2 separate regions of the Homo sapiens genome follow, and region 2 is linked to region 1. The links are contacts of gene promoters, found by promoter capture Hi-C in human tissues and cell types (Jung and others, 2019). All regions are on one chromosome and are shown on one strand. The core of a region is centred on a gene start or on the middle of the fragment in contact, and the rest is flanking DNA. Distances in the headings are between cores, read along the strand shown. Region 1 holds the start of HMGCS2 (3-hydroxy-3-methylglutaryl-CoA synthase 2). Region 2 overlaps LOC105378937 (a long non-coding RNA gene).

What was found. The method cuts DNA at HindIII sites, captures the fragments that hold promoters and counts their contacts. A contact is called where the count stands out against the background at its distance.
Region 2: a fragment that was not itself captured here is called in contact with the fragment with the promoter of HMGCS2 in region 1 in 2 of the 25 tissues and cell types used here (bladder and neural progenitor cells).

What each region holds. Positions count from the first base shown.
Region 1 is chr1:119,767,490-119,770,572 of GRCh38, reverse strand. HMGCS2 (3-hydroxy-3-methylglutaryl-CoA synthase 2) reads left to right here and starts at 1,668. Exons shown (of 10, transcript NM_005518.4): 1 at 1,668-1,832. The coding sequence starts at 1,729. RefSeq lists a silencer at 1,793-2,087. The HindIII fragment of the contact is 5,763 bases long and covers 1-3,083 here.
Region 2 is chr1:119,706,192-119,709,323 of GRCh38, reverse strand. The region is part of intron 1 of LOC105378937 (a long non-coding RNA gene); the gene reads left to right. Among named protein-coding and RNA genes, the nearest start is that of PHGDH, 4.2 kb to the left of the region's middle. The HindIII fragment of the contact is 3,951 bases long and covers 1-3,132 here.

The DNA of each region.
Region 1 (3,083 bases), core at 419-2,918:
CTAAAATGTTGGAGGTGGCATAGACACTGTAATAACAAAGTCCACATTATGACTGTGGAGTGGGAGGCTAAAGTCATGTCCATGAACACGGACATGGCTGTGGGAGCTTCAGTGAGAGGCTAGGGCAGGTGAATTATCTTATGTGGAGATTGACATCTCACATCCATTGAGATGACTGATGGTGGAGAGGAAAGTAGTGATCTATGTGCTTAAATTTTATCAATGAGGGACAGTGGAACATGACAGTTAGTTGACTGCAAGAATAAGGGCACTGGGTGGCACAGACTGTAGCATGTGCTTTAAGACAGCAGGGGTTTTGAGAGGAGGAAGAGGAGAAATACCCTGGAAGAGATAGTATGAAGCAAAGAGGACACAGGCCTTGTTGTAAGCATTTAAAGTGCATTGGATTGACAAGAAGCAACAGGTATTTCAGAGAAGAGATTGGAAATGAAGAATTTCACTGACGACAGAACTTTGCAAAAGGCTGAGTGTAAGAGCAGGAGGTGACACAGCAAGGTAGGAGATTGAGTTAGAACACCAACACACCAAGATATATGGAGATAAGAATTTAAAGATAAGATGGAAGACCTAGATATCCTGGACTGCTGGGGGCACCTAGACATTCTCTGTCTGTAGGAACATGAAGTCAACTATATCCTCCTAAAGCAGGAACCACTCCAGCTCTTTTCTGTGTTCCCTACACACTCATATTAGACAGGGGGTTGGTGATGGGGATGACTGAATGAACTAAGGAGTGAATGCATGACTCACAAAAGGTAGAGGAAGATTGGTGCTGTGGGAGGAGTGGAGGGAGACATTCATTTGGAAAATCAGATGGCAGGAGCCTTTTTATTGAGTAGTAGAAGAGCAAAGCAGAAGGACCAGAATCTGGAGTCAAAAGACATGGTTGAGTTCTCATTCTGCAACTTCCTAGCTGCAGGTCTTTGGGAAAATGACTCCTTTATACATAACTCTGACCTCATCTATAAAGTAAACCTTTCCTCCTTAGGAGATTGAGCTTCAAACTGTCACCTCTTTGAGGCTCCTGTCCCTTTACTACAACACTAATTTCATCCCACTTGGAAATTGTGTAGAGCTGTACAAGTAAAAGGGTGGACAATAAACAGGAGAAATATAGTAGGTTCCACATACTCTAACGCCCAGCCCTTGGCCTATGTGCCAACACTCACTCCCAACTCCTTGAAAAGCTACTATTAAAAGAGTTTCCCTTTGGTTTAGAAAGATGTTTCTTATAATGCATAGCACATTAAAATAATAACAACTAACACCACAGAGAGGAGTGTGGAACACCCAGTGAGAGTAATACAGATAAGGAGCCAGGGTCTAAAACAAGACACATAGGGTTACCTTGGGATGTGATACAACAAGGAACATCATAACCTCCTGCTTAGGTAGCTGGGCAGAATCAAGGCTGCCACAGAGCCTGATGGAGTAGGAGGAACAATGCCCAGCCATTCCCACACATGCTCAGGAGCAGGGCAGCTATGTACATGTTGGAGAGATGCTGTTTGTCTTTGACTCGCCCGTGTTCTGAGTGAGCCCTTTGACCCAGTTTTAGAAGCAGACTGAGCCACGGTGAGCAGAGGCGGGGCTTAGGGAGGCAGGAGTCTTGGGGCTTTATAAAGTCCTGCCGGGCACCACTGGGCATCTCTTTCAAGGTTTCTGCTGGGTTTCTGAACTGCTGGGTTTCTGCTTGCTCCTCTGGAGATGCAGCGTCTGTTGACTCCAGTGAAGCGCATTCTGCAACTGACAAGAGCGGTGCAGGAAACCTCCCTCACACCTGCTCGCCTGCTCCCAGTAGCCCACCAAAGGTGAGTCACTTTCTGAGAAGCACCTTGTAACTAGTAAAAGATAGTTTTTCCCTGCTATTGGGGAAAACTCACTAGAATCCCACTCAAAATTTGGCAAGGCTTGTGCACAGCAGCCTTAGACAAGCAAGTTAACTTTAAAGGGTCTCAGTTACCTCATCTCTAAACAGACAATCCCTTTCAGCTGTAGAGTGAGAAGAGCCCAAACCTCTGACACATGCTGTGTTTGTGAGCAATGGCAACTTTTACTCTGCCAGCTGCATGAAGCAGTAGAAATATCAGTACCAGGCCACAGCTTTCCTCTCTACACCACCATTCCCACCTTCACCCCTAGCCTCTGCCTAGAACCACAGGACCTTGTGCCAACTGCAGTGTTAGTAAAACCAGTGACTTTATATCACTGCAGCAGAATCAGAAATGGACTGAGGATGAGAAGCTGTGTTTGCCTTGTGTTCCAATTTTATGAAAAGGGGAAATGTGTGTTTATGTGTGTATGTGTACATGCTCTTTGCAAGAAGAACATGCACACTCCTTTTCTTTGTAAATAGTCCCTGAACATGGCTCAAGTGCTTATGTTTTCCATTGTCAGCGATGATGGTAACACAGCTATCGTTAGTGCCTCAGGCTCCCAGCCACCTATGTGTTTCTGTCTAATCCCCAAACCATCCACTACACATTGGGACTAGTTCTTTATTTCCTTACATTTTTACTCTATATTCTATGACTACTAAATATTTAGAAAAATGATTTTGACCTAGTGTCTTTCCTTGCCAAATACCCAAGGAACCTGGGTGTATAGATGTGCATGGTAGAGGCAAATGCACATAGCTTTCTTATATTTTTCATTATGCTACCATCATCTCACTCTCCCCATGCACTGCCAAACCCTGCATGTGGGTTAAATGTCCCAGCTCAGGATTTAACCTGTTTCTATATTTGTGAAGAAGAGATTGATGTGGGTTTCTTGTTTTAATAGCAATAGTTGGCCATCAGCCAAAAGACATACATCAATCCTCCCCAACATTCTGACTCCCTTGGTTCAAACTCTTGGAATCATTCCCATTTCCCTTCTGGTATATTCACAGTTAATCCCATTATGCATGGCTTGAACTAATATTGCTTTTCATGAGTCACCTTTTCTCTATATGTCTAATCGCCTTTAATCCAACCCACATTGGCTCTAACTCCAACCTAAAAGAGACTTTCATCTCAGCATCTGCTTTGCTGTCTTCAAAATTCGGTAAGACTTGTGCC
Region 2 (3,132 bases), core at 501-3,000, 61 kb after region 1:
ACATAACCTGCCTTGAAGCTGCTCATGGTTAACTGCCTAATCTTGAGAGCTGAATATGAATTAGCCGGGGGAGAAGAAATGACATTTCCAAAGGCTTAGAGTTGTGAGGAGTTGCAACATGTTCATGGCTTCTCTACCATGGCTGTGGGGGATGCCAGTGGGATACCAGGAGGTGAGACTGCAGAGGGGCCAGGGGCTGCTCATGAAGTGTCTTGCCCTGAGGAGGAGTTTAAACTTGACTCCAAAGTTAGTACAGAGGTACCGAGTGATTTTTAGAAGCGATATCATCAAATGTGTTGCTGGTCGGGCTGAGACCTGATACTGCCAATACAGATATATCCCTCACCACTACACCCCAGAATCTCCAACATCAATTGCAAACTAAGGGTTTTTCTTTGATAACTGAGGGTTGGAGTTGGGGAAATTTCTCCCTCTCCCTGTGTTATTGCATCCATCCATAAAACAGGAACTTTGGCCAGCTTGGAAGTAGTAGGAAAACAGTTCTGCCCTTCTCCTCAGACCCCTCCTTCTCTCCCTTCCTCTGGCCCCAACCCCTTCAGAAGAGAAAACCACTCTGATTAGTGAAGTTTGGGGAAAAGGTCCTAGTGCGTGCCCAGGCCAGCCCCTTTTGGCTCTCTCTTTCGAAGCTGGAAGCCTAAAATAATGTACACACTCCTGCTTCCTTGTGTGTAGTGAATCTGTCAAGGCAAGACCTACCCCTACCTAAGGTTGCAAGATGTCCAGCTGTTCCGCCTGTAACTCTGAGGATAAAGTTAATGGGGTTAAGGGGAGGAGAGTAGGAACTCTCTTTTTCTGCTTGGAGACCAGCTGTGATATCCAAACTCGAATCATAAGAAATAAAATATGTAACAAACCTGCATGTCGTGCACATGTACCCTAGAACTTAAAGTATAATAAAAAAAGAAATAAAATGATATTTTAAGATGCAGAAAATGAACTGTCATCCGTAAAACAGGCATATCTTGATTTGAATTTCAGCTTCTCAAGTTATGAACAATGTGATTTTGGGCAAATTACATTGCCCCCCTAAGACTTAGTTTTCTCCTATGTAATATGGAATGAATAGTATGATAGTGCTTACTTCATAAGGCTTTTGTAGGGATTAAATAAGGCAAAGCATACAAGTGAGTGTAATCTCTAGTGCTTGACTTTCCTTCATTCATCCACTCAATCAGTGTATATTTATTGAAACTGTAATGTGTCAGGCACTGCTGAGGGGGTTGGAAATGAAGCTTTGATTAAGACCGTCTCTGCTCTCATGGAGCTTACATTGCGTTTGAGGATAGAAAATAAATAAATAAACAAAAAATTGAACTGGATAATCTCAGGGCATATATAATAAATAATGTAAAACCAGATGATGTGAAAGACAGGTTAGGGGAGAGGAATCATAGACTTTATGATGAGGAAAGGCCTTCCTGAAAAGGTGGAGCTTGGGTTGAGACTGAAATAAGAAGAAACTGGCTATGCAAAGAATTAAAGAAAAAGAGAATTCGAGGCAGAAGGAAAAACAGAACAAGTGTGGCACATTCAAGAAACCTGCCCAAATATTTCTATAGTACTGACTATGTGCCAGGCACTGGAATAACAATGCTGAACAAGTCACATGTAGTCCCTACTCAGAGGGAACTTTTTTTTTTTTTACAAATTTAAAGAATTTTTTAATTCGTAAGAAAATTTAAAAATGTTTCTATCCCCAAAGAGAATGAATCAAGTTACATATGAATACGACAAAAAGAGAAAAACAAAGAACAGAAGAGAATGAGAGGGGAAGAAAGCAGAAGAAAGGAAAGGAGGGAGAAGAGGACAAAAAGAAATGGCTTAGCCAAGCATATCTTCACTGACAATCTTGATTAAACTTCACTTTTCTCCCCGTCGACAATTCCTTACATTTGGCTATTACCATAAATACACTCCATAGAGAATCATTCAATAAATATTGTTTGAACAAGTGGACAGTCATCTAGAAAATAAAGTCAAATCTGAATTTTATGCCAAGACAAATTTCAAATAATTTACATGTGAAATGTAAAAGCTAAAAACATAAACGGCACAAAAATCACGGAAGAATTAACTTTTTTTTTTTTTTTTTTTTTTTTGCTGGGGAGGGCAAGGCAGCCCCATCCTTCAGTACTTATTTATTTATTTATTATTTTTTTTATTATATTTTAAGTTTTATGGTACATGTGCACAACGTGCAGGTTTGTTACATATGTATACATGTGCCATGCTGGTGTGCTGCACCCATTAACTCGTCATTTAACATTAGGTATATCTCCTAATGCTATCCCTCCCCACCTCCCCCCACCCCACAAAAGGTCCCGGTGTGCGATGTTCCCCTTCCTGTGTCCATGTGTTCTCATTGTTCAATTCCCACCTATGAGTGGGAACATGCGGTGTTTGGTTTTTTTGTCCTTGCGATAGTTTACTGAGAATGATGATTTCCAATTTCATCCATGTCCCTACAAAGGACATGAACTCATCATTTTTTATGGCTGCATAGTATTCCATGGTGTATATGTGCCACATTTTCTTAATCCAGCTGTCATTGTTGGACATTTGGGTTGGTTCCAAGTCTTTGCTATTGTGAATAGTGCCGCAATAAACATACGTGTGCATGTGTCTTTATAGCAGCATGATTTATAATCCTTTGGGTATATCCAGTAATGGGATGGCTGGGTCAAATGGTATTTCTAGTTCTAGATCCTTGAGGAATCGCCACACTGACTTCCACAATGGTTGAACTAGTTTACAGTCCCACCAACAGTGTAAAAGTGTTCCTATTTCTCCACATCCTCTCCAGCACCTGTTGTGTCCTGACTTTTTAATGATCGCCATTCTAACTGGTGTGAGATGGTATCTCATTGTGCTTTTGATTTGCATTTCTCTGATGGCCAGTGATGATGAGCATTTTTTCATGTGTCTTTTGGCTGCATAAATGTCTTCTTTTGAGAAGTGTCTGTTCATATCCTTTGCCCACTTTTTGATGGGTTTGTTTGTTTTTTTCTTGTAAATTTGTTTGAGTTCATTGTAGATTCTAGATATTAGCCCTTTGTCAGATGAGTAGATTGCAAAAATTTTCTCCCAGTCTGTAGGTTGCCTGTTCACTCT